2 separate regions of the Homo sapiens genome follow, and region 1 is linked to region 2. The links are contacts of gene promoters, found by promoter capture Hi-C in human tissues and cell types (Jung and others, 2019). All regions are on one chromosome and are shown on one strand. The core of a region is centred on a gene start or on the middle of the fragment in contact, and the rest is flanking DNA. Distances in the headings are between cores, read along the strand shown. Region 1 overlaps ASPM (assembly factor for spindle microtubules). Region 2 holds the start of F13B (coagulation factor XIII B chain).

The links. The method cuts DNA at HindIII sites, captures the fragments that hold promoters and counts their contacts. A contact is called where the count stands out against the background at its distance.
Region 1: a fragment that was not itself captured here is called in contact with the fragment with the promoter of F13B in region 2 in 2 of the 25 tissues and cell types used here (mesendoderm cells and thymus).

Annotation. Positions count from the first base shown.
Region 1 is chr1:197,116,699-197,123,931 of GRCh38, reverse strand. ASPM (assembly factor for spindle microtubules) reads left to right here. Exons shown (of 28, transcript NM_018136.5): 14 at 1,337-1,544; 15 at 1,631-1,773; 16 at 1,889-2,017; 17 at 5,949-6,143. Among named protein-coding and RNA genes, the nearest start is that of ASPM, 26 kb to the left of the region's middle. The HindIII fragment of the contact is 6,426 bases long and covers 1-4,973 here.
Region 2 is chr1:197,062,501-197,069,631 of GRCh38, reverse strand. It overlaps F13B (coagulation factor XIII B chain), which reads left to right and starts at 2,372. Exons shown (of 12, transcript NM_001994.3): 1 at 2,372-2,472; 2 at 6,575-6,775. The coding sequence starts at 2,409. RefSeq lists an enhancer at 65-1,264. The HindIII fragment of the contact is 20,654 bases long and covers 1-4,691 here.

The DNA of each region.
Region 1 (7,233 bases), core at 511-3,010, 55 kb before region 2:
TTGTGTGATACATGATAATTTTATCAAGAAAAGAAAAATATGCCCTAGATGGAAGTCTTAGTAGAAGATGCTTGCATAGAACTGGGACATAAAAGAATCATATCATTATTATAAAGTTCAATTCAAATAAGCCCACATTCAGAAAGGGACAACTAAGAACTTACCACTAGTTAGAGGAAGAAGAACAAAATTTGAGTCTCTCTATAATCATTTGTTAGGTTAACACTGTATTTCTGTATGAAGTATACTTCTTAGTGTAAATATATGAAAAAAATTTCCCCTAAACACGTGGATAAACTATCTGGTAATAAATATAAGACAGAAACAGTGATACACAGTATGTATAGCTAAATATGGTAAGCCTTGCAATATGATTATACCAAGAAGTTATTAGTACAAAAATTGTTAAACATATGGATAATCTTCTATGTTTTAACTAAATACTAGAGAGCCAAAGTTGATCATCGGTATTAATTAATTCCATATTTGGAATTTGCATACTAGCTAAAATTTCTTTTTAATGCCAAAATTAGTAGTTGCAGTATTTTGTGGTCATTTATTGACGTGTGTGAATGCCTGGGCCCTCATAGCCAGCTGATGTCAAACAAGGTGGTGCTCTTTTTGTTTCAGCTCTTATACTGTAAACAAGCGTCCTTTTCAGGACCTATTTAGCATTGTACTTTTTTGCATTTTTGTGCTTTTTGTTGGTGAGTTCCCTGTTTAAAATGGCTTTCAAGTGTAGTAATGAAGCCCTGTCTAGTGTTCTTAGGAGAAGACTGTGATGTGCCGTATACAGAAAATATATGCGTTAACTAATTTTAATGCAGGCGTGAATTATAATGCTGTTGGCCATGAGTTAGTGTTATTGAATCAGAAACACCTGTGAACAAGGTTATGTGCGGATTGGTTGATAAACATATTATAACCAGAGGCTCACAGGACACTAACCTTATATTTCTCCTCTATGCAATGGTTCAATATTCACAAATAACGAGAATCCACTCTCATTGCTTGTTGTTGTAGTTTCCTAAGACTACCATAGCAAATTACAGCAAACTAGGTGGCTTAAAGTAGAAATTTATTCTCTCACAGTTCCAGAGGTTAGAAGTCTGAAATCAAGGTGTTGGATGTGCCATGCTCTCACATAAAGTTCTAGGGGATACTCTTTTATTTTTTTCTTTTAAATTTTAGAGTTTACCAGTCAAACTTGCCATTACTTGCCTTGTAGATTTGTCACTCCAGTCTCTGCCTTTATTATTCACAGGTATTCTGCAAACCATTATGTCTATACTACTTTCTAAATGCGGTTAATTGTTTTTCTGGCATTTTCAATCAGGTGGAGAATTTTACAGTGTCTTTCTCAGACGGCCGTGTGTTATGTTACCTGATCCACCATTACCATCCTTGCTATGTGCCATTTGACGCTATATGTCAGCGTACTACTCAAACTGTGGAATGTACGCAAACTGGTTCAGTGGTATTAAATTCATCATCTGAATCTGATGACAGTTCTCTGGATATGTCTCTTAAAGCATTTGATCATGGTTAGTCCCTTTTGGTTACTTTTCCAATTTTTTGCCATGTCTGATTTGAAGCTACGGCTAATTTCTCCTTTCCTCCTGCATAATAGAAAATACTTCAGAGCTATACAAAGAGCTCCTAGAAAATGAAAAGAAAAATTTTCACTTGGTTAGGTCTGCAGTTAGAGACCTTGGTGGAATACCTGCTATGATTAATCATTCAGATATGTCAAATACAATTCCAGATGAAAAGGTAAGTAAAAGAAGAGTTTCTAATTATTAATTCAATAATAAAGTCTCAGAAGATGATAGTAAGTACTGTATTCTCTGTTGATATTCTGTTTTTATCTTTTGTGGGTTTTTTTTAGGTGGTTATTACCTATTTGTCATTTCTTTGTGCAAGGCTTTTGGATCTTCGTAAAGAAATAAGAGCTGCTCGACTCATACAAACAACATGGAGAAAATATAAACTAAAAACAGATCTCAAACGCCATCAGGTACTCCTAGAATATGAAACTACTATAGTGTGAATTATACTTTAGAAGGTATTTGTTGATTGATTTTTGATATGATTTTACATTTTATGGATGTATGGCATTATTAAGATAAATTTAGTAATTGTGTATATGTATTTTGGGTTGGGGAGGTATGAGTATTTCTCCCTAATTGCTAATATTCCCTTCATTTGATGTATCTTCCAGTCTGTCCACCCCTTCACCTAGTCTGTTCCAGGGGAAGAGGAATAACTTAATCTGCTTTTTAAATTTGTGAGGAATACATAGCTCACATTGACTCAGCTCTTCCTTTCCTCCTGTTGGAATCTAACCTGCCTCTGGAGAGCAGGAGCTTTCCATTAATTTTTTATTCTGTGCTGTATGAGGCTTGACCTCAACTAGTGCTGCCTGGGCCTGAGCATCAAGTGTCTGATTTTGTGATTTAACTAGTAAGCTTAGTTTGTTTGCCATGAAGCTGTCTTCTACTTTATCCTTTATTAGTTTTAAAAGTGGTATTTTGGTTTCTGCTATTAATTTTTCAAAATGTTAGGATCTGGGCATGAGAATAGAGATGTTATTTATTGTTTCCCTTTGTGACCCCAATAGTACAAAAATTTCATTAATGTAAAAAATTTTTTTCTTAAGTTCTGAGAAAATTGTTATTTTTAATAATCTAAGAAACGGCCTCCTTGATCAAGTTGAACAAACTATTTCACTCTTTTTGTCACCCTATTCCATCTACTAACTAATATTGTGTTTATTTATTTGGAAAACCAAAAAAAATAAAATAAAACAAGCATCCATGCCTGGTAAAATTTATCATAAATATTTCAGAAATACATTCCACCCAATATTCCTTCTCAACTTTGAAATATAATGCATCTGTGATAAAGTTCTTGGTAGCTGTGTAAAACAGATAAATTTTGACAACTTTCAAACACAATATGTGTTTTTTCATTTCACACCAGACTTGGAAATAAGACTAATTGAAATAATTTTCTTTTCCCCTACTCAAACTCTTCATAGTAAAGTTTGGGAAATAGGCAGGGTCTTAACACTCACAAATGGTCTTTTCTGCTACTGTATATGCTGTGTGCCCTATAGTGCCCCTAAACTCAGGATCTGCCTCCCTGCCTACATATCACTTGGAGAATAACTTCCTGAAAACTTTCCTAAAGCAATTCCCCTAGAAGCTTCCAATACTTCTAGGGGAATTGGAAGAGTTCAGAAAAGTGTCTCCCCTGGCCAGTCCTCAAGCTATTTGATTCACCCATTGTATATTGCATTAAATGAGAGTTTTAGAATTACAAGAGATAGATATATATGTATTCTGCTTTTATTTTCTGCTCAAGATAGCCTTGTATTAATCAGATTTTTTTTTTCTTTTGGAGACAAGGTCTCACTCTGTCACCCAGGCAGGAGTGCAATAGCACGATCTTGGCTCACTTCAGATTTTGTCTCTTGGGTTCAAGCCATTCTTGTGCCTCAGCCTCCTGAGTAGTTGGGATTATAGGTGCATGCCACCACACCCAGCTAATTTTTGTATTTTTTGTAGAGACAGGATTTCACCCCATTGCCTAGGCTGGTCTTAAACTCCTGCCTCAAGTGATCTGCCTGACTCTGTCTCCCACAGTGCTGGGATTATATGCATGAGCCACTGCACCCAGCCTTAGTCTGATATTAACTGTAGAATTTTCTCAGCTTTTTGCTAGTGAGATCCCTTTTCTTGATTTATTTCCTTAATGCAAATAGAAGTTTCCATTTTTTTGAAGGATTAAGAGAAGTTTTTTTGAAGAATTAAGAGAAGTTTCTATACTTATGGTTAAACTTCTTGGACCCAGTCAGACCACTGTTTCTCTCCTTTTTCTTGGTGACCATACTCCCTCTTTTATACAATTACCTCACATCCAATTATATCTTTCCGTTTTCTATTTAGAACATTAAGCAGCAGGCTCCCTATGTTATTGCAAGCTACTAAACATATTAACTTGAGATAGCTATTTTTCAGGTTTTATATTTTGCTTTTATGTTATAATTCATATAAATCTATTAATGGAGTGGCTCAAACTTTTATTATGACAAAGAAACTTTGTCAAGTAGCTAAAATTACCTGATGAACTATTGAAGCATCCCCTGGTACATTACAGCTCTCAGTTCTTCCTGTCAACAAATAGCCATAAACTCCAAAGCAAAAGAAGTCCTAGAATTTGGCCCTATATATATGAGGCAAGATAAAAGAAATAAGCTGGTACCTGGCTGACTCAACAACAGTCTGATTAAAAAGGGTCAATGACCATACATGGAAACTTTTATCATCAGTATATGTAATTTTCAAATACTTGCTAAATTTGGTAATATATTTGCCTCTTCTAATTTATTTACTTTCCATCTTTAAATTCTCTAATGGCATGTAAAGTTGTATTTTAGTTCTATAGAGATGATCTAAAAACTGAGATAAGTTACAATTTACTTTAGCCTATTTTGTCCATGAATGCCCTGACCCTTACAACTTTTGTCTCAAATGCAATATACTTCTGAACTGCAACATTTGAAAATTTTATTTGTGTATTTATTTATTTACTGTAACAGGGTTGTGCTTTTAACTTGAGCCTCTACAGTCCTAAAGCCCATAGGTTTCACAAGGGCATTGATAATGGTGTTAGATGACTTAATCAACTTGTTATATACATAATTCCCCTAGCCCGATTTTGGAATTGTCTACTCTTTCTCCCCAGAGGAATGATCCAATATATAGCACTTACCATTCCTTAGTATTTATGTTTCAATCTATTGGTCACCTTTTTTATATGTAAAAATAACAGTTTGATTATTTCCATAGTTGTTTCCCCTATTGCACAATTTTCATGCACAGATACCAACCACTGATTGTTATTAATTAATAATTGGAATTATAGCTAATCTCTGTGTAGAGCCTACCCTTGCATGGTGGACGGTCCCAGACAGCAACACAAAAAGCTGCCAGACATCCCTGCCATAAGTTATTCCTTCCCACCAGAGGAAATAGTTCATTTTCTAGTCTCCAATTCCAGTGAAGTAAATTGAGAAATCTAGTATTGGACAGTATAGCAAAGTTACTTTAAAGCCAAACTGCCTGATTCGTATCCTGGCTATATTACCAATAAACTAACAAGCTAATTGACCTCATTGCCTCAGTTTTCTAGTGATCGTAAGAGTAGTATTTGCTCATTTGTTCTTATGGTGGTGGTTGTGAGATTTAAATGGATTGTTCATGAAGTGTTCAGAATGGTGCTGGACATAGAATATGTTATTATTTACAGCAATTTATTATCAGAAGTAACAAGTAGAGATATGGGGGGTATTGCCTTCTAACATAACTAGGGAGCTGGGTCCTCTTTGACCACAAATGTTGGGCATCTCAGATACCACTTCTCATAGCCCAAACTATACTTTTTCCTCTTCAGCTTGTATGACCTAAGGCCACAATGTATTCTGTGCTAAAGGAGGAGGTATTTTGTTTCTCCCCTTTAGTGTTTTGCTTTGTTCAAATTGTTACAATTCTCTAACACATTCTTTTTTTCATACAATCCTCCCCTTTCCTAAAAGTTAATCATGAATTCAGTGGACCTGAATCTGAGAAACATACCACATTACACTTCAAATGGCCTTTATCTTGATTACTGAGGATCTGTGATAGATCAAACATGTCTAATCTTTATCTTAGACTATTTCTTAGGAATCTTTGTTTCATCATACAAAATATCTGCAAGCCCACCTATCAGCGCTTTCGACATGCCTGGAATTATCAGTATTCCAAAGATGAACACAAGAAGTGTAGGGGTGTTTTATTTCCAGTATCAATTTGATTGGTGTTTAACATATGGTTATCTTACAAAGAATAATTTAAGGTCTTAAGTGAGTGTTTAATTTACATTTGCTGACTTTTTTATTTTAGGAGAGAGAGAAAGCTGCAAGAATTATTCAATTGGCTGTAATCAATTTTCTAGCAAAACAAAGATTGAGAAAAAGAGTTAATGCAGCACTCGTCATTCAGAAATATTGGCGAAGAGTCTTAGCACAGAGAAAATTATTAATGTTAAAAAAGGAAAAGCTGGAAAAAGTTCAAAATAAAGCAGCATCACTTATTCAGGTATAGTATCCTGGACTAATTTTTGAATTTAAAAAATTTTAATGACTTTTTTAAGTAAGAAGGCAAAATGTGATGAAGTTTTCAATGATTATATTTTAGGATTCTTTATCTAATACTTAATTTAACAAATATTTACTACCTGAAAAGCTCGTTATGGTGTTCAGCAGAAGGCTGAAACATAATTGAAATGCATTTGCTCTGAAAAAGCAAACATTCTAATTCTGTACCTGTTGCTCTCTTCTTTGTTGCGTCTTCTACGCTGTGGGACATGCTGGCCTACTGAACCATTCTACTTTGTAGATCCACATAACCAACCAGGTTCTTTTTTATCTTTGCTTTGAGTCCTGGAAACTTCTCTTTGGGACAACTGTACACATTTTTCTCTCTACTCCACTTAGTTGGCATGTAAAGGAAATAGTACTTATAATTAGTCTATAGAATACCTATATTATTTTTCTTTTTAGGAAAAAATATATAATACTGACTTAATATAGTCTTTACATCTATGTAAATTAGTTTTTTTATATTAAATTATATTTTAATGACATGAGAGATGTGCATTATTTAAATTTACTATTTATAAATGCCATTGAAGCTTCACCCCATCAATATATCTGATTTATGAATTTGAAAGTTTTTGTGTCTGGCTACCATTATTGATAAATGAGGGTTCTCTGACTTAAATAATTGTCTTTTTTAACCTTTTTTTAACATGTAAAATATTACACATAGAAAATTACCCAAAATAAAAATATAGAGCCTAATGATTTTTCACAAAATAAATGCCAATGTAAAACCACCTAGGCCAAGAAATAGAATATTGCCAGTGTAGCAAAAGGCATTTTTCAATTAACTCTCCCATCCCAGCTCAAGCTAACCATTATGCTAATCATGCCATTTTCCTAAGTGTTTTCTTTAAACACAATAATTTAGTTTCGCTTACTTTTTGAATTGTTACAGGTGAGTTCAAACCATATGAATTCTTTGATTTGATATTATTACATTTTTTGAGATTTATCAGCGTTGAGTATAGCCGTGGTTTAATTTTTTTATTTCGTATTCTGCACTATACTTAATCTGTTCTATTTTT
Region 2 (7,131 bases), core at 1,123-3,622:
TTCCTGGGTCGAATGGGGACTTGGAGAACTTTTCTGTCTAGCTAAAGGATTGTAAACACACCAATCAGCGCTCTGTGTCTAGCTAAAGGTTTGTAAATGCACCAATCAGCACTTTGTAAAAACAGACCAACCAGCACTCTGTAAAATGTGCCAATCAGCGGGATGTGGGCGGAGCCAAATAAGGGAATAAAAGCTGGCCACCCGAGCCAGCCGCAGCAACCTGGTCTGGTCCCCTTCCAGGCTGTGGAAACTTTGTTCTTTCGCTCTTTGCAATAAATCTTGCTGCTGCTCTCTTTTTGGGTCTGCACTACCTTTATGAGCTGTAACACTCACCGCGAAGGTCTGTGGCTTCACTCCTGAAGTCAGCAAGACCTCGAACCCACCAGGAGGAAGAAACAACTCCGGACGCACCATCTTTTAGAGCTGTAACACTCACTGTGAAGGTCTGCGGCTTCACTCCTGAAGTCAGCAAGACCAGGAACCCACCAGAAGGAAGAAACTCTGGACACATCTGAACATCAGAGGAACAAACTCCGGACACACCATCTTTAAAAACTGTAATGCTCACCGCAAGCGTCCGCAGCTTCATTCTTGAAGTCAGCAAGACCAAGAACCCATTGGAAGGAACCAATTCCAGACACACTGCCATGAGGTAGTGCTTTCATGAGAGCATCAGCTGTGGTATATAGGGGAGGATCAGGTGGTGGGTGGGACACTAGAACTTCCAAGAGAATATGACCTTTGTCTTCAGCTACCAGGGTGGGTAGGGAAGGACCATCAGGTGGGGGCAGGGTTAGGCATGTCTGAGCTCAGAGTCTTCTTGGGTGGGGCTTGTTGTGGCTCTGTGGGGAATGGGGGTGTGATTCCCAGGTTAATGGAGTTACCTTCCCAGGAGGATTATGGCTGCCTCTTCTGTGTCATGCAGGTTGTCAGGGAAGTGGGGGAAAGCTGGCAGTTACAGACCTCACCCAGCTCTCACACAACCCAACAAGCAAATCTCACTTCTACTGTGTTCCCCCAAAAAGCACCGAATTTGTTTCCAGGCAGTAGGGGAGCAGGATTGAGAACTTGCCCCAGGCTACTAGCCTCCCAGCTGAGAATGCAAGCCAGACTTTTGTGCCTCCCTACCTGTTAAGTCTGCACACCAGATTCACGCCCTTTCCTGAGTTCTGGACAGGAAAGTTTGTGTTCGGTTGGAATTGTTACTAAGTTCAGCTGGAGGTTTCCTTCTCCCTGTGGTCTTTTCCCAGTTCCTCCGGCAGCCCCTGTGAGACAAGTCAGAAATGGCTTCTCTGGGGACCCACAGAGACGATGGGGCTTTACCCTTTGCTTCCTCTACCCCTGTATTTCGCTCAGCTCTCTAAATTGTCTGAGCTCCAGGTAAGGTCAAATCCTTCTCCTGTGATCTAGACCTTCAGGTTCCCCAAGGGTGTGTGTTCAGGGGTGGACAATACCCCTTTCACACTTTTCACAGTTTGGGCATTCACAGTATGTGGGCTATTTTCTGGGTCATGCAGGAGCAATATACTTTCTTCAGAGGGTCTGTGGATTATCTTGGCTTTCCTGTTATATCCTTGCAGCAGTTCTTGGAGCAAAAGTTCACAATGCGAGTCTCCACATCCTGCTCTGTCCATCCAAGTGGGAGCTGCAAGTTAGTCCTGCCTCCTATCCACCATTTTTTCCTATTTTGTATTTTAAATTAAAACTCATTAGAATGTAAACTCCATGAGGGCAATAATTTTAATCCAGTTTTTTCACTGCTAAATACCTCAAAACTGTTACATGTGCTGCCATTATCATGGACGTTCTAAACATTTCTCATGAATGAATGTTGATATAGCACAGTGCTGATCTCACCACCTGCCACAAAGTAAAAACTCTCTAAATGTCAAACACTACTATTATAAGTAATACTATTCTATCATTGAGACAACTATGGTTCTGTATCTCTTTAAGGAGTGCAGTCTAGGCAACAACATATTTCAACATCAGGTATCTGTTATCTCATGTTCCTAAGTTCATCTTTTTACCTGATCAATATTAGTAAAGATCTATGGCCTCAAGTGAACTTTACTCTATGAATTTACAATTGGGAACTTAGGTTGAAAATTTACCTAGTATTATTTATTCTGCTGCTATAATTTATTATTTATTCTGCTGCTATTGTTGCCCTAATCAGTTATCATGCTCTTACTGGACTCTGACATGGTAAGTAATGTCAATTAATATAGTTGTGTTATTTTAACATTATTTCAAAATATTTTAAGTGAAATATAAGACTCGTTACAAAAGGACTTAGACAGAGGTTATAAATTATTAACTTTTTCCTCAAGAGAAGTATTGTGTACTTAATGACAAGTTCCTAGTGCTTAGAATTGTTAAAATCTTTGTGAAGCACACCACTGAAGATGAGGTTGAAAAACCTGACTTTTATCATCATATTGATAATCTCAGGAGAACTCTATGCAGAAGGTAAAATTAATTCTTAATATTCTTTATTCTCTAAAACATACAAATGGAGATTCTAATATTTATACAACTCAAGTTTTAATATACTCTTCTATTTTCATTATCAATTTTATAACATATTTTATAAATATAACTTTTTATAATATTTAGACCTTTTCCTTTGAGCAAAATTAGTAAAGTGTTCTTACAGTAGCATAAGTCAGAAAAGCAAAACAAAACAAAAACCCTTGTATCTCTAGGGGGCATAGGAGACCAGGATCTAAATACTTCGAAAAGGTTTTCAGGTTAACAATATGTCCATTTCGAAGTCACATGTTAACTTTAATTCTAAATTTATGCTAGAATCCATTCCTAATACTGACAAAACTTGTACAATTTTAATTCTGTTCATAAGGTGAGAGTTTAATGTGGGAAATTTGAAAAGGAAATAGCCATAAATATTTTTTACTTTTGAGACTTTGATTTTTATCACAATGAATTATTCATTTGTTGGAGACATTAAGTAGTGATTAGTAGGTGAACCATATAATTGCTTGTACAAACAGGGACACTTAGAGAGTAAAAGAGGGGCTCTATTAATAACTGTTTGGACAACACATGTAAATCAGGACTTTCCAAACAAACCAATACCTATGGACTCCCTATTAGAAAGCTTTATAGTCAGATTGCCCAATGTGTAAGATTAGTGTGCGAGTGGAAGCTAGGCAGTGTACATGGGTATGTTGTTCAGGAACATTATCAATATTATCAGGCCATAGGATGAAGAATCCAGGGAGGACACTTAGCATTAGCAAGAGTGAACATACAAAGAAGGAAGCTACAGCAATACAGCTTTTCTAAAATAAACATTTTTGGGAATTTGTTGAAATTAAATACATAAGTTTTAACTGTGTTTTAGTTGAATAGTTAACTATAAATTTTCTACCAAAACATCTATAATTAAAATTATAAAAGTGAAAGACACAGAATTAATCTTATTTTATACTTTTAATTCTATAATAGGATGATTTTTGCATGAATTTCTTTTGATTTTATTTTTCTGTCTAAATAGGGAAATACCAGCAGATATAATTGTCTGTTATCTATACCATAAAGACATTGCAATATTCTAGTTAATTTTCTAATTATTATAAGGTTATAATGCTATTTTACACAACAAAAAAAAAAGTAAGCTGCTTGAAGACCAAGACAATGATTTTATTTTTGCATGCTTCTCTCAACTCCCATTGTGCACTTCAGGGACAAGAATTGAATTAATTGTGTTTCTCATTTCATGGTATGCAAGTATTATTGGCCTATGAAAGGTCTCACTCTTGCTTTACTTACACATTTTATCCCCTTATTCCTAATCTTGAAGTCCATTTCCCCTGGGACCTACTACAATGTTTTAACATGTTACTCTAGCTCTCTCAACCACAAATAGCTCTGGAATGAATATTGTAATATAACCAACTTATCTTTCTGTAAGAATGTCATCAGTCTGTATTCACTCACAGATAGCATTATTGAGTCTATTCTTGTACTTGATTTCTGTAATGAGAGATTACTTTTGCAGAATGGCAGTTTTGAAGTATATCATCTCTGAGAGAGGATGTAAATTGTTGCTCCTCATCATTCTCACCAACACCTCATATTGTCCATTTTTGTACTGGTTGCTATATGGTTATTCATAAAGTGATATCCCATTTTTATTTATTTACCATTCTCTGATCAGTAGTAAGTGTGTCCATCGCTTCATGTACTTTTTTTAATATGTTCAGACATCTGTGATTTCCTGGTTTATATGTGATTAGTATATTCCTCACATTTCTCATTAATTTTTTGTCAGGAATTCATATTCTCCAAGGCATTCCAGCTACCTTAACAAATAATGTGCCTATCCTGGTGGTGGAGGGAGATGTCCCAGGACAGAGAGTCTTTAAAGCCACAACCTAGGATTGTTGTGCAGAGAATACTTTGCTGCCCCTCCCTGACAAGCAACTGTGCCCCTCAGGGAAATTTCTTGTGTATTCACCATTGCACTGCTATTTTGGAAGACTCTTTTTATTGTAAATTCCTTTGGTGCTTGGGTGTGAAAAAATGGTGAGAATAATTCTCAAGGAATGGGGACTATCCAGCCCATGTTTTTCTGTCTGCTCCATCAGATAGTGGAAGTTTTGTTGCTCATCATTCCACATCCATTTCCTTCAAACCTAGGCTAGCACTACTAGTATTTTATGTCTCATAGTAGCATTAAGGTATACAGTGATCAACCAAGGCATTGAAGCCGTAGTAATCACACTGGATCTAGGCCTTCTTCCATCCATGACTGCCCATGTTTCTTCCCACCACAGCTCCTAGGATTGTTCGAGCATTTCTTTCTTTTAAGTGTTTTTATGACTTTAAGATCTTCAACATAAAGATATATTTTTAAAATATATGTTTTATTTGGAGTATAACATATCCAGAAAAATGCAAAAATCACAGGATACACTTATATAGTTTTTACAAAATTTTACACCATCCAGATCAAGATATAGAACAGTGATAGTACCCCAGAAATATGATCCTTCTAAGGCACTAAACCCCAAAGGTAACCATTCTGACTTCTATTATCATGGATTAGTTTGTTTTCTTTTAAAAAGTTATGCAAATGTATACATTAATTCATATGTGATTGGCTTCTTTCACTCAATATTATGTTTATGAGATTCACCATTTGTTCATTTCTGTTGTTGGATAATATTCCATTGTATGCATAGTCTAAAATGTGTTTATCTTTTCTATTATTTATGGGCATTTAGATTGTTCCCAGTTTGGGACTATATGAATACTGCCACTATAAGCATTTTTTTCCATGTCTTTTGGTATACAAATATGTGCTTTTTTTATTGGGTAATATGGTTTGTACATGTTTTACCCCAATATATATTGCAAAGGTGTTCTCTCATAGAGTTTGGACTGATTTATACTTTCAGTTGTAGAAATATGCGAGTTCCAGTTTCTTCACTTCTTCACAATCATTGAGATAGCTTGTCTTTTTCATTTCAGCAGTTCTATTGGATATGCAGTAGTATCTCATGGTGGTTTAAATTTTCATTTCCCTGATGACTAGTAATGCTAAGTACCAGGTCTCTAACCATTTAAATATCCTATTTTGCCAAGTTCTTGCCAAGTATTGCTTTGTTTTACTTGGTTGTCTGTTTTTTCTTTTAATGCTATTTATTTCAAAATTTTTTATGAGTTAGCATATGTTAAGGAGAAACTTTACCTATTCCTGAACTGTACTGTCCAATACAGTGGCCATCAGCCACATATAGCTATTGGAGACAGTACTTAAAATGTCACTAGTTCAAGATCAGATATTCTGTAAGTATAAATATGTAGTGGATTTTAAAGAGTTAGAAAAAAAAAGAATGTAAAATATTTTCAATATATTGGGTTAAATAAAAACCTATTATTAAAACTAACTTCAATTGTTCCTTAGTATTTTTATGAATGTGACTATTAGAAATTTTTAAATTACATAAGTGACTTACAATACATATCTATTAGGAAGTGCAGGCAGGGTGGAGTGGTTCAAGTCTTGTAATCCTAGTGCTTTGGGAGGCCAAAGCAGAAGGATCCTTTGAGTCCAGGAGTTTGAGACCAGCGTGAGCAACAGAGTGAGACCCCTCATCTCTACAAAAAATAAAACAAAAATTAGCCAGATGTGGTGGCATGTGCCTGCAGTCCTAGCTACAGGAGAGGAGGCTTGCTTAAGCCCAGGAGCTCCTGGTGGCAGTGAGCTATATTTCAGCACTGCACTGAAGCTTGGATAACTGAGGAAGACTCTGTGTCTAGGAAGAAAAAAAAAAGTACTGTTCTACGAAGTTATGCAAAGCTTCCCTGAAAAAGTGGTCTGCTAAATTTTATCATGACTGTTGGATGTTTAAAGTCATTTGCAGATCAATTATGATAAAAGGACTGCTTGAGTTGTCACAAAAGTACCTTAAAAATTTAAGTAAGAAAAATAAGTACTAGTTGAAGTGTCTCTAAAAACTTTTAGTTTGTATTGTCACCTGATTACAAATTTATGTTTTTAGATTTGTTTTTCCATTTTCAGCTTGACATTTACTCATTTCAGAGAAACCCTGTGGTTTTCCTCATGTGGAAAATGGAAGAATTGCCCAATATTACTATACTTTTAAAAGCTTTTACTTTCCAATGAGCATAGACAAAAAATTGTCATTTTTCTGCTTGGCTGGTTATACCACTGAAAGTGGAAGACAAGAAGAGCAAACCACGTGTACAACAGAAGGCTGGTCTCCAGAGCCAAGGTGCTTCAGTAAGTCAGCTGGATATGTCACTCAATGTTTCAATACTCAAAGAAATTTGTATATAAAAATAGGGGTCCAATAAAAATGGAAAGCGGTTAAACCTTTTAGTAGATAAGAACAAAATCACTAGCAATCTGTCTTTCTACAAAATGAAGGCATAATTTGAAATCCAGTAAATAATGCTTTTACATTAAAATGTTATTTTCTGTATCTGTTTTTAATAATACTCTGTTGAAGGGAATAGGGTAATAACTGAAATTATCATATTGCAAGGCAAAGAGAGGTAATTTACTTTAAGTAACAAGAAACTTATTTTGATAATTAAGCATAAGATGCCAGAAAAATGCTTGAAACTCTGGCCTCT